Regions from separate parts of the Homo sapiens genome. Here all the other regions are linked to region 1. The links are contacts of gene promoters, found by promoter capture Hi-C in human tissues and cell types (Jung and others, 2019). All regions are on one chromosome and are shown on one strand. The core of a region is centred on a gene start or on the middle of the fragment in contact, and the rest is flanking DNA. Distances in the headings are between cores, read along the strand shown.

Region 1 (4,641 bases), core at 594-3,093:
CATCACCTAAGGTCAGGAGTTCGAGACTAGTCTGGCCAACATGGTAAAACCCCATCTCTACCAAAAATACAAAAATTAGCTGGGCGTGGTGGTACATACCTGTAGTTCCAGATACTCGGGAGGCTCAGGCAGGAGAATTGCTTGAACCCGGGAGGCGGAGGTTGCAGTGAGCCAAGATTGCACCACTGCACTCCAGCCTGGGCAACAGAGCGAGACCCCCATCTCAAAAAAAAAAAAAAAGAAAGAAAAAAATATATATGTCTATACCATTGCATGGTCAAGCCATATTTTGTTTATATATTCATCAGGTGATGAATATTTATGTTTTTTCCACTTTTTGGCTCTTGTGAATAATGCTGCTATGAGCATTCACGCACAAGTTTTTGTATAGACATCTGTTTTTAATTCTTTGGGGTTTTGCATTCATTTTAATTTTAAAAACATATTGCATAAAAATGTTATTTACCTTGATGACTGGGTTTTTTGGCATTCCCTTAAAATTTGCACCTGGGCTGCCAGGCATGGTGGCGCACGCCTGTAATCCTAACACTTTGGGAGGCTGAGGTGGGCGGATGGCTTGAGTCCAGGAGTTTGAGACCAACCTGGGCAGCATGGCAAGACCCTGTCTCCACAAAAAATACACACACAAGGCCGGGCACAGTGGCTCACACCTGTAATCCCAGCACTTTGGGAGGCCGAGGCGGACGAATCACTTGAGGTCAAGAGTTCAAGACCAGCCTGGCCAACATGGTGAAACCCCAACTCAATAAAGAATACAAAAAAATTAGCCGGGTGTAGTGGTATGTGCCTGTAATCCCAGCTACTCCGGAGGCTGAGGCAGGGGAATCGCTTGAACCTGGGAGGCGGAGGTTGCAGTGAGCCAAGATTGCTCCACTGCACTCCAAGCCTGGGTGACAGAGTGAGACTCTGTCTCAAAAACACACACACACACAACCCAAACACACACAACACACACACACAAAATCAGCTGGGTGTCGTGGTGCGTGCCTGTAGTGCCAGCTACTTGGGTACTTGGGTGGCTGAGGCGGGAGGATCACCTGAACCCAGGAAGTCAAGGCTGCAGTAAGCCATGATCGCGCCACAGCACTCCAGCCTGGGTGACAAAGTGAGAACATAGCTCAAAAAATAAAAAAATAAATTTGCACCTGAGGCAAGTGTCACACTCATCCCAACTCAGTCTCACCTTGCATGTTTTCTGCCTTGCTGGCTGTATGACCCTGGACAAGTTACTTAACCGCTCAGAGCCTCGATTTCCTCCTCTATAAAATGGGGATAATCTCTGTAACTGCTCACAGTTGGTAGCAGAATGCAATGAAGTGAATTCGCCCTCACAGAGCCAGCACTGTTCTTGGCACATGGTAATCTTAACATATTTTTTCCTACAGGGAGGCCTGGTGTCAGGCCGGGAGTGGGGTGGAAGGGTCCCAAAATGGATGGAAGGGCCCCAAAATGGCCGTGAGCATCCTCTGCCCTTGAGAAGAGCTAGCCCAGCTGTCTAGAGCTCCCTGCTGCTGCCGCTCTCGTAAGCAGCAAGCATTTTTGGCTCTCCTGTCTCAGCATGATGCCCCTACAAGGTTCTTTCGGGGGTGGGACCCAACGCTGCTCTCCTGATGGCCTCCCTGGCTCCCAGCACCTTCCATCCCAGCTGCTCAGGGCCCCTCACCTGCGCCTCCCCCACCCTCCCCTCTGCCCACTCCCATCGCAGGCCATAGCTCCCTGTCCCTCTCCGCTGCCATGAGGCCTGCACTTTGCAGGGCTGAAGTCCAAAGTTCAGTCCCTTCGCTAAGCACACGGATAAATATGAACCTTGGAGAATTTCCCCAGCTCCAATGTAAACAGAACAGGCAGGGGCCCTGATTCACGGGCCGCTGGGGCCAGGGTTGGGGGTTGGGGGTGCCCACAGGGCTTGGCTAGTGGGGTTTTGGGGGGGCAGTGGGTGCAAGGAGTTTGGTTTGTGTCTGCCGGCCGGCAGGCAAACGCAACCCACGCGGTGGGGGAGGCGGCTAGCGTGGTGGACCCGGGCCGCGTGGCCCTGTGGCAGCCGAGCCATGGTTTCTAAACTGAGCCAGCTGCAGACGGAGCTCCTGGCGGCCCTGCTCGAGTCAGGGCTGAGCAAAGAGGCACTGATCCAGGCACTGGGTGAGCCGGGGCCCTACCTCCTGGCTGGAGAAGGCCCCCTGGACAAGGGGGAGTCCTGCGGCGGCGGTCGAGGGGAGCTGGCTGAGCTGCCCAATGGGCTGGGGGAGACTCGGGGCTCCGAGGACGAGACGGACGACGATGGGGAAGACTTCACGCCACCCATCCTCAAAGAGCTGGAGAACCTCAGCCCTGAGGAGGCGGCCCACCAGAAAGCCGTGGTGGAGACCCTTCTGCAGTAAGGAGCCCTGCCCCGTCCCCGCTCCCAGGAGAGCCTAGAGGGGCCCCCCTCAGCTCCTAACGAGCCCCCCTTCTGAGTTGAGTCCCCATGACCTTCAGCCTTTAGCCTAGTTGCTGGGAAGGGGGACAGGGCCCATGAGAGCCCAGGGGTCCTTGCTTGGAGGTTTGAGCCTCCAGCCCCTGAACTGCTCCTCTGCAGAGTCCCAAATCCCATGAGCCCAGGCCTTTAGCCCAGTCCTTGGGCAAGGGGGACATTTCCCAGGGGGGTCCAAGATGGGAGAAAAAGCAGGTGAGTTCACAACTCAAATGCCTGGAGAACTGGGAGGTGGTGGAAATTTTTAGCCACTCTGATCATTTATACTCTCCAGACCCTAACTCCTGCACTGAGTCCTCAGTGGGTAGGCTCCGGGGCCCAGGAAGCACTGCCAGGGAGGAGGGCCCGAAGCTGGGGTTTGGGGGCTTTCCTGGCCTCCTAGGGACTCATGCGTTTAGCCAGGGAAGCCCAGGTCTTTCTTACCTGAGGCAGACAGAGCCTCGAGGTGGGAGCTGCTCCCCTTTCCTGTATGGCCACAGGCACCCCACCTCACCAGCAGGCGCCATTAGAGGCTGCCCGTTCTACATCCCCATCCGCTGGCGGACTCCCCGTCTCCTGGAGAACTGGGTGGGTCCTGAGCTCGATGCCTCCCCTCTCCTCAGCAGAGCTGACCTAGTTACTAATTACCCATGTGCTTTATTATTTCTCTTTTGTTTTATAAATTTATAAATGGCAAAAGGCTCTGATAAGGTCTGTGATCATTAACTTGTAGGAATGGTGGCCTGGAAAGATCTGGGCCAACCCACCTCCCACCTAGTGGGGGTGGGGGATGGGGGTGTGGGGGAGAAGGAAGGATGGCCTGGGGGCTACAGGGGCCACCCCTCCCCAGCGGCTCCCTGACCTCCACCCTACAGCGCCTGCTTGAGGAGGTTCACTACTTCCTGGGCGCTGTGCTGAGGTTTCACAGGAATAATTTCCCTTCATGGTGAGGAGTCCTGGGCAGAAGCTATTGGTGACTCTGCTTCACAAATGGGGAAACTGGGGCTTAGAGCCGGGAAGGAGCTAGACTAAGTTCACCAAACTGAGGCCCCAAACCTACTCTGTTCGGTGCTCTCAATTGCTATGACCGGGGACCAGAGGCCTGCAGGGGGTGGCCAGGGAGTCAGAGAGAGACCGAGCCCCAAAGATGCTCCAAAGGGGCCCATCTCTTTTCTGTCCAAGGTCCTGATCCCAGCTGGGGTGGGGGAGGGCTGGTGGATTCCTGCTTTCCCAGAGGCCTCAGGGAGCCTCCCGAGGGCCTGGACAGGGGGCAGGGGAGCAGTCAGGGCCCCCTGACTTGGCAGGAAGAGGAGGGCAAAGGACTCCAGAGCTGCAGGGGAGGGGCAAAGAGTCAGGCATCCCAGACCCAGGGCGAAGGCAACCTGACGGGGTGGGGCTGGGCCTGACCTGCCCAGGGCCCCAGATGGGACTGGGGGCTTTGGGGTGAGGGTGGGGGCAGGGGATGCTTTCTTACCTGGCTGAGTGAGCTCTCTCGGTCAGCAGCCCCCTTTGGTGGGATGGTGGGGTTGGGGAGGCTTGATCCACAGCATTTGAAGGGGAAGCAGAGGTCAAAGTGCTTCCTAGGGACCAGCAGAGACCTGGAAGCTGAGGCAGAGAGTGTAGAGAGAGGCCATTGGGGGAGATGGACAGAGAAGCTGGGAGAAGCAGAACGGAGGAGCCAGGGGGGCGGGGGCTCAGACCCAGCTGGGAGAAGGGGCACGGGAGAGAATGAGGCGCCCCAAGCTTGCAAGGAGGCTGGAGTGCTTCCCGCCTGCCCCGATTGGGTTTTCTTTAATGCTAACAGCATGCTATTTACTTTCCATTTAAATTTGAGATGTTGCTATAAATTATCAACCAGCTCCTTGTTCCTGCAGAGTTTATAACTAACTACCTGGGTTACTTATTGTTCAGGTAACAAAAGGGATCGGAAAACGCCCTGAGTGAAAAAAGTGGGGCCTCCAGCGTCAGGGTCAGGAAAGGAGCCAGGGAGAGAGGGGCGGGGGACCCCTATTGAAGGCCTGGGCCATTGGGGAGGTTGAGGCTGGGAAGACGGTACAGAGGCAGAATGTCTAGTAGAAGCTGTTTCCCGGGAGAAGTCAGTGTCTGGGAAGAAGCCGGGGTGGGTCCTGGGTCCCAGGCCTCCCTGGGGTGCCCCATGTTGGTGGCCACAG
Region 2 (4,641 bases), core at 1,026-3,525, 220 kb before region 1:
ATTGCCAGTTTAATGATTCTTTAATCTGCCAATGTGCTGTTAATCCTATCTAGTGAATTGACTTCATGTGTTGTATTTTTAAGTTCTAGAATTTTTATTTGGTTCTTTTTGTCATGATTTATCTGCTGACAATTCCTATTTGCTCATTATGAGCATATTTTCCTTTACATCCTGGAGCATGGTTATAATTACTTTAAACATCTTGAATGTTAATTCCAACATGTCAGTCATATCAGAGTCAGTTTCTGTCAATTGCTTCTTGAGCATAGATCACATTTTCTTGTTCATATGTATAGCAGTTTTGAATTATATAATTGCAGAAAATCTGGTGAAGTGTTTTTTTTTTTGTTTTGTTTTGTTTTTTTTACAGCAGGCATTTAACGGCTGAACTCAAGATTTAAAACTTTGATTCCAGCCAGGGACAGTGCCTCATGCCTGTAATCCTAGCATTTTGGGAGGCCAAGGCGAAAGGATGGCTTGAGGCCAGGAGTTTGAGACCAGTCTGGGCAACACAGCAAGACCCCATCTCTACAAATAAAAACCTCCCAAGTAGTTGGTGGTATGTGCCTGTAGTCCCAGCTATTAATACTTGGGAGGCTGAGCTGAGAGGATTGCTTGAGCTTAGGAGATCAAGGCTGCAGTGAGCTATGATTGTACCACTGCACTGCAGTGTGGGTGACAGACACAGACTTTGTCTCAAATTTAAGAAAAGGAAGGCGGCCGGGCTCAGTGGCTCACGCCTGTAATCCCAGCACTTTGGGAGGCCGAGGTGGGTGGATCACGAGGTCAGGAGATCGAGACCATCCTGTCTAACACGGTGAAACCCCGTCTCTACTAAAAAAAATACAAAAAATTAGCCGGGCATGGTGGTGGGCGCCTGTAGTCCCAGCTACTCTGGAGGCTGAGGCAGGAGAATGGCGTGAACCCGGGAGGCGGAGCTTGCAGTGAGCCGAGATTGCACCACTGCACTCCAGCCTGGGTGACAGAGCGAGACTCAGTCTCAAAAAAAAAAAAAAAAGAAAAGAAAAGAAAAGGCAAAACACAAGCAAAAAAAACCCTTTGATCCTCCTCTGGTGGGCAGCAGCTGAAATTTGTCTTTATTTCTTTTGGCCTTAGCTGGGCTGTTTAGAGTCTGCCCTCTGTGTATTTCAGAAATCAGATTTAGGCAGGGCTTATACATGGTATTTTCTGTATTTCATGTATATTTTAAAGTTGTTTTTAGCCAGAGGATTGATTTGAATAACAGCCCAGTATTACTGGGGATCAGAACAGCAGCTGACAGTTGTTTTTATGTTTTTATGGCTTGTTTTAATATCAGCAGTGGGTTGGGTGTGGTGGCTCATGCCTGTAATCCCAGCACTTTGGGAGGCAGGATTGCTTGAGCTCAAGAGTAGGAGGTTGCAGTAAGCTATGGCTGCACCAGTGCATTCCAGCCTAGGCAACACAGTAAGACCCTGTCTTAAAAAAAAAAAAATCAATCAGCAATAGGGTAGTCATAATTTTAACAATGAAATCCAGTTGCTTTGAATGCCTCAAAGATTCTAGTTTAAGCCTGGCTTGCTAGGAGGCATGCATCCTGGTCCCCTCCTCCTAGGAACTCCTAGTTTGTGTGAGGTGATACCCTCTCATGAGTAATGGTCAACACTGCTGCAGCATTATTGGAGAGGAAGGTGTCGGCATGCCCCTTCTGGACAGCAGCTGGGTCAGCCCAGGGCTTGGCAGCCAAAACCCCAGCTCTTTCCTGCCACCTACTAGGGTTGGTGGATCTCCATCTCCAATACGATGCTGTTTGCATGGTCCTTCCCTGTTTACAGAAACTCCCCACAGTTCTGTATGTATGCTAAACAAGTCGTGTCTACAAAACCTGGCTGTGATTATTTTCTCATAATCTGGGCAATGAGCTCAGTCTCTGGAAGCAGGAAGATCTGGGGCAAATTAGCTGCCCTTGAAACTTTGGGTACATAAAATGGATGATAAAATCTGCCGTTACATAATGAGACTGAAGATCTGAGATGACAGGCCACCATTCTGGCCCACAGCATGGAACACACTCTGCAGTTAGGGAGACCCAGGCAGACGCTGTTGCAAGAATCTTTATTTGCTACAGGCAGTGGATGGATTTAAATGTATTTGGAACTAAGAGTAGGATTTAAATGTATTTGGAACTAAGAGTAGGCCCTAGAGCCATCAGTGTTTATGCCTTACCTGTATTTTCTGGGGTGGAGATCATTTCTAATCCTGGGATGAGGATGGAATATAATGATTAGGGACAGTGTTTAGAGCTTATTCTGCCACTTAGCAATTTGTGATCTTGGGGTCTTGGCGAGTTCCTTTGTGACAATGGTGACAGTAATGGCACCTGCCTTTATTAAAGGGCTCTTGGGAGGCATGACTGACACCCGGTGTGTGGCCATCATTGGCTGGGGCTCTCTCCAGCAGATCTCCCCAGATCTGCTTTGACACCCCAGGCCTCTGAGCTTTCTTTAGGTCATGAGTATGTCCCTTCTCCTTGCTTCACGTTCTCCTCAAATGAAGCCTGGCAACTGTGTCCCTGGCCAAATGATCAAGAGGGATGTGGGACAGGACAGGGCTGAGGACGAAGCCCGGGCCCATCCCTTCAAGGTAGCATCAGCTCCTTCATCAGCGACTTTTGGGGAGGGTCATGGGTCATCCCACCAGTTATTGATCTGCTTCATCAGACGGTGCCTCAGCCCTGATTGCTTCACTGTGTCCTGGAGGACTGAGAATTTTCCAAATGCGTGGCTGGAATCTCCTCTTTCACTCTCTCTAGTCTGGCTACTGTCCCTCTCCTATTCAGTGGACTGACCTGAGCCAAGTGGCTTAGAATGACACTGTGTTTTATTTTAACACAGGATAGGAGTTTGGCCCATGAGTCTTTTTTTTTGAGAAGGAGTCTCGCTCTGTCACCCAGGCTGGAGTGCAGTGGTGCGATCTCGGCTCACTGCAACCTTCACCTCCCAGGTTCAAGCGATTCTCCTGCCTCAGCCTCCCGAGTAGCTGGGACTACAGCCATATGCCAGCACACCCGGCTAATTTTGTATTTTTAGTAGAGACGGGATTTCTCCATGTTGGTCAGGCTGGTCTCGAACTCCCGACCTCAGGTGATCCACCCACCTCGGCCTCCCAAAGTGTTGGGATTACAGGCGTGAGCCACCGAGCCCGGCCCTGGCCCATGAGTCTTTTGTTCCAAGGGTGTTCAAGAAAAACCTAGATGTATCAACTAATACAGGCCCACAAAAGACTGACAGAATGGGAGCTTCACAGTGTAGTAAACTTTTCCCTCAAAACAAGCAGTAAGACTTTAAAGTACACTGAAGTTAAAGAGGGCACATGCAGTGTTTATTATGGAAAAAAAAAGTACAGAAAAATAAAAACGTCAACACTGGTTTGTGTGCAGAATCTGGGTAGAGGTTGATCTTCTTGGCCTTAAGAAGCCAAAATGAGGAACTGCATGGGCAGGGTCACCCACCATCCCCCTCTGCATATGGAGCTTTGTGCTAAGGCTTTCAGTGTGTAGAAGAAAATTTCAAGACCCTGGATGGGGGAAATCACCCCTCAGCAGAGGGGAGAGAACCAGTATTCCTAATGATGAACCGGGAGCTGTGGTGGTTTGAATAATGACAGCGTACAGATCTAATGATTTTAACTGTATTCCAACTCTCTGAGCATTGTGTGTGAAATATATGAGAACACAGTAAACCAGAAGAGCGCCTCATATTTACTCAATACTTTCTATGAGGCACCTTCATCCCCATTTCAGATGAAGCAGCTCGGACTCAGGGGGCTCCATCCCTAACCAGAGCCCCATGGTGGCTGTGTGGGGGATGCGCATGACAAATGCCTTCACACTCAGAGCACCACAGAGCAGTCTTCCTCCTGCCTCTCACTGTCCAGGTCATCTCGCATACTCTGCAAGGCTTTACATCACTGAAGACTTTTTTTTTTTTTGGCTTTAGCTGCTCTATTGGCTAGAACAACTCTTCTTCCCCAATTTCTTCTGTTATCTATTTTGGCAATTCATTGTTCAGGTTAAGAAGTGTGGAGTCACTGTGGAGTCCCCAACCCTGCATCCAATCTGGTAGCAAGTTCTGTTCTTCGCATCACCCTAGTCCAGGCCATGGCCTCTCTCACAGCGACTGCCCCGGGCAGAACGCCTACACTCAACAGGGGAGGGCTGCGGGAAGTGCCAGGAGGCACAAGCGAAGGAGGAAAGGTGGGGCCGGGGCTCCTGGCCAGATGGTGGTCTTGGGGAGGGTGGCACTGCATTCTACCCGCCGTCAAGCCGGCAAGGCCACGACTCATCCGTGCGATGCTTCGTCATCTTAGTTCCTCCCTGCACTAGCAAGCGCTCAGCCTCTTTCTCTGAAATTGGTTTCCGCCTTCCCCAGGGAGCTGTCACAGGATATGTTACTATCTGCCTGGGGATAAAAACCCCATCAAGGCACGACAGCAACCGCAGGTGTGAGGAAATTCAATCTCTAATGGCAAAGGCTCAAACACAAAAGCTAGAAGCTCACGTGGTGGCTACACTCCAGCAGCTCCAGGTGGGCAGAGTGAAAGGTGGCAGTAGCAGGCTGACAGGTGGTCCGCCTGGAGAGAGGCTCTCTGGTGAGACAGAGC
Region 3 (4,641 bases), core at 711-3,210, 180 kb before region 1:
AGTAATGGGCTCACTGCTTGACGCGCTACATCTTTCCACATTAGTATATACTGCTTTTTTCTCATAAAAACAAACAAACAAAAAAACCTACAGAGTATTTCTCCCCAAGTAAACTTGATCTGGTATCATTTTTAGATAAGCTGCACATGAGCTGTCTTACTACAGAGAAATATTAAGACCAGCAGGCTTTATAGGTGAATGATATGGTTTAGCCTTGAACTGGGTAAGGTCCAGATGGCCACTGACCCTGTCAGCTAATTAGTGTCAGTTAGAATGACAACTCATCAACATTCTTCAACTTTAAATTGGGTGTAAGTATAAATTCCAGTTTGGTGTTTTGGTCACTTTGATGTACATTTCACATGAAGTTTATTACAGACACTATATCAAGAAGTATATTAATATTCTGTGAGTGCCTTAATAAGATTTTAGTGTGGCTGAGGTAGAGATCTGGTTATATTTGCCCTAAATTTGTTTCAGGCTAGAATTAATTCAGTTGCAAGGAACAGAACTTTAGGAAATCAACTACTCATTTCTTTATGTCCTAGAGTGGATTAAAAAGGATTTTCTGAGGAAGATTCTAGGCCTGCCTTTAGGAACTTCCACTGCCTGCCTCAGGACAAGGGGAAACATGGGCTTATATTTAGGTATTAGGTTCCTTCATTCTGATAAAAATACGAATGCACCATGAGTGCTGTTAAGACAACTAGGTCTGTATTTAGCTGGCAACATAATACATTTTTGGGCTGCTGCTTTTATATATGTATGTATGTATGTATGTGTGTATATATATACATATATATGTATATATATACACATATATGTGTGTGTGTGTGTGTGTATATATATATATATATTTTTTTTTTTTTTCCTTTTTGAGATGGAGTCTCAGTTTGTGGCCCAGGCTGGAGTGCAGTGGCGCAATCTCGGCTCACTGCAACCTCTGCCTCCCAGTTCAAGCGATTCTCCTGCCTCAGCCTCCTGAGTAGCTGGGATTACAGGCATGCATCAACACGCCTGGCTAATTTTTGTATTTTGAGTAGAGATGGAGTTTCACCATGTTGGCCAGGCTGGTCTTGGAACTCCTGACCTCACGTGATCCTCCCACCTTGGCCTCTGAACATGCTGGGATTACAAGCGTGAGCCACCGTGCCTGGTCTGCTACCAATATTTATTAACAGATCAACATTCAAGAATAACCAGTTTAAGAATTAACAGCCCATTCATTCTCCAGATATTCCAAAATATAACCTTAGACCACACTTAGCAGTAAGATGGTTATCTAAACAACAACATCCTGTTGCCCACTGTGCACCTTCAATTTTGGCAAAACTGCTTTTGCTGAAATACATTTTCATGCAATGCCACCAACTTATATTGAAGGTACTACAATTCATTCAACAAACACTTATTTGAATGCCTACTGTGAGATGAATGAACTTAACATTATATCCTCTTTATGAAGGTCGTTAGGATAAAAGTCTGTCTGATCTTAAGGCCAAGAACAGTTGCGATTCACCTGAACAACTGAGTTCTTTTGATGGAAGGAAGCTGAGTTTTACATTCTTTCTTTTTAAATCTGGCTGCTACAAAGCTTATGGTGGTCCTTGTGAAACACTAGTAACAGGAGTGCTGGCATTATGGTATGCATTTTTACATTTCTTTTTTGGCTCTATTTTGTCTCCACTCATACTTTTAGTTTTCTTTGGCCCCATTTTATTTTTCCTTGAAGTAACTTGCAAAAGTTAGTACATGCTCTGAAATCGGGCAGTGAAGAGCACAAATAAACAATTGTAGGAAGCAAAATGGAGGGGAGAGCAGATCAGTTTATTGAAAGTTATACTCGTTCATCCATTTGCATTCTGATACCTGAGGACACTGTGAATTACTGGAGGAGAAAAGCAAATTGGAATTTTTAACCTTAACATTATTTTTTTCTCAGCTCCAGAAAGGAGTGAAAAAATGAAAAAATAATAAAATTTTAATTTATAAAAAATTTTAAAAAGAAAGTTTTTTGATAATTCTACTATTGAAAGTGAGTACAATGAAGCGGGGACTCACTGGTTCAAGGTAAACATTACATGGTTAAAGTTAGGTTAAGTTAAATATGTGTTCCTAGAAAACTTACAGTGGTTTTATAAATTGAACATTTAATAGTGAATTGATGAAATTCTTAAATATATAAAAAAACTTGTCTACACACGCTGCAATGGACAAAATCATTCCCTACGTCATCTAACAAGTTCAGGCTTCTGTGTATGATGTTTTCTTCAAGTAGGACGAGTTATGGAATGACAAAAAGGGTAGCTCAAAAGTTAATCAACATATTACACACAATTAGAACATCATGACAATTGTGAACCATAGTGACACTTGTTCTGGTGAACCATGGTCTAACTACAATTATATGCACTTAGAATGAAGGGCATCACAATCATATCAAGTATAGTTCTTATTAAAGAACTCAGCATCTCTGCAGGCTTACTAACCTGATGTTGTCTTCCTAGAGTAGGTTTGGGTATACGTAAATGAACTGCCCTCATTACCTAAGAAAGCATTGGTAGGTGCTTGCCTTTACAAAAAAGGAACTAGTTACTCTTGAGTTATAATACAAATGACCAAAAACTAACTCAAGAAAATCTAAATAGCCTTTTTTGGACAATGTTAAGACAGAAACTGTTACTAGAGATAAAGAGGAACATTTTATAAAAGTCAAGAAATAGATAACAATTATAAGCATACAGAAAGTGAAAAGACAAACCCAGAGGCACTTATAACAAAAACCCATTTTCACAATAAAGAAAGAACACTCAAAATTCAACAAGAAAAAGAAAACCCAATTTAAAAATGGACAGAAGAGTTGAAAAGACACCAAAGAAGAGACATAGATGGCAAATGGGCACATGAAAAGATGCTCAACATCAGTAGGCATTAAGAAAATGCAAACCAAAATTATAATGAGATACCACTTCATACCCACCAGAACAGTAGAATAGCTATAATCATAAAGATAGATAATAACAAGTGTTGGTGAAGAAGTGGAGAAATTGGAAACCTCATACATTGCTAGTGGGAATGTACAATAGCATAGCTGCCTTGGAAAACAGAAGCATTTCTTAAAATGTTAAGACTAAGAGTTACCATTAGACCCAGCAATTCTGCTACTAGGTATCTGCTTGAGGGCAATAAATATGTTATGTCTGCACAGAAACTTGTACACAAATGTTCACAGTAACATTATTCATAAAAGCCAAAAAAGGGAAACAACCCAAACGTCTATCAGCCAATGAATGGAAAAACAAAAAGTATTATTCAGTAATAAAAAGGAATGAAATACTGATAACATGCTACAACACAGATAAACTTCAAAAACATGCTAAGTGAAAGAAGCCAGTAACAAAAGGTCACATACTGTATGACACCACTTATACGAGAGGTCCAGAATAGGCAAATCTATAGAGATAAAAGGTAGATTCATGGTTGCCTAGGGCTGGCGGGCAGGGAAAGAGGAATGGGAATGACTGCTAACTGGTACAAATTTTCTTTTGGGATGATAATGTGCTAAAATTGGATTACAGTGACGGCTGAACAATTTTGTAAATAAACTAAAACCCACTGAATTGTATACTTTAAGTGACCAAACTTTATGGTATTTATCTCTCAATAAAGCTGTTAAAATATACTATATAAATTAAATGGACAAAAACCACAGGATCAACTCAATAGAAGCATAAGAACACATGATAAAATCCAATACCCATTCATGATAAAACTCTCCACAAACTAGAAATAAGAGAAATTTCTTCAACCTGATAAAGGGCATTTATGAAAAATGTACAACTAACTACATACTTAATGGGAAATGCTTTCCCTGAAGGATTAGGAACAGGGCAAGGATGGATGTGTGCCTTTGGCACTTCTATTCGACACTGTACAATAAGGGAGAAAAAGGGAAAAAGACAAAGTCTTTCAGAATTGAAAGCAGCAGCAAAACTGCCTTTATTTGCAGACCACATCATCCTATGTGCAGAAAATTCTAAGGAATCATAGACAAAAAACTACCAGCACTAATAAATGAGTTCAGCAAAGCTACAGTATTTGAGGTCAATACACAAAAATTAATTGTAGTTCTATATACTTAGCAATGAACAATCCAAAATGAAGAAAAAAATTCATCAAAAATAACATCAAAAAGTAAAAAAATACTTAGGAATAAATTTAACAAAATAGTGCAAGCCTTGCACACTGAAAATTACAAAACACTATTAATAGAAATTAAAGAATATCTAAAACATCTAAATTAAAGAATATCTAAATAAACGGAGACACATTCCACATCCATGGATTGGAAGTGAACATCATTAAGATAGCAATTTTCCTCAAACTGATCTATAGATTCACAATGCCTATCGAAATCCCTGCAGGCTTTTTTTTTTTTTTTTGGTAGAAACTGACCAGCTGAACCTAAAATTTATATGGAAATGCAAAGGATCCAGAGTAGCCAGAAAAATTTGTAAAAGAACAACACTTACTTTAAACGCGACAACAATCAAAACATTGGCACTGGCATAAGAAGAGACATACAGACCAGACCTAATAACTATCTTTACTTTTATGGTCGATTTTTTTTTTTTTTTTAAG

Evidence for each region. Contacts are between HindIII fragments. The study calls those that stand out against the background at their distance.
Region 2: a fragment that was not itself captured here is called in contact with the fragment with the promoter of HNF1A in region 1 in 1 of the 25 tissues and cell types used here (stomach).
Region 3: a fragment that was not itself captured here is called in contact with the fragment with the promoter of HNF1A in region 1 in 5 of the 25 tissues and cell types used here (H1 embryonic stem cells, dorsolateral prefrontal cortex, lymphoblastoid cells and 2 more).

What each region holds. Positions count from the first base shown.
Region 1 is chr12:120,976,700-120,981,340 of GRCh38, forward strand. HNF1A (HNF1 homeobox A) reads left to right here and starts at 1,844. Exons shown (of 10, transcript NM_000545.8): 1 at 1,844-2,395. The coding sequence starts at 2,070. The HindIII fragment of the contact is 9,653 bases long and covers 1-4,641 here.
Region 2 is chr12:120,755,529-120,760,169 of GRCh38, forward strand. No RefSeq gene overlaps it. Among named protein-coding and RNA genes, the nearest start is that of ACADS, 32 kb to the left of the region's middle. The HindIII fragment of the contact is 6,965 bases long and covers 1-4,641 here.
Region 3 is chr12:120,801,576-120,806,216 of GRCh38, forward strand. The region is part of intron 2 of SPPL3 (signal peptide peptidase like 3); the gene reads right to left. Among named protein-coding and RNA genes, the nearest start is that of ACADS, 78 kb to the left of the region's middle. The HindIII fragment of the contact is 8,897 bases long and covers 1-4,641 here.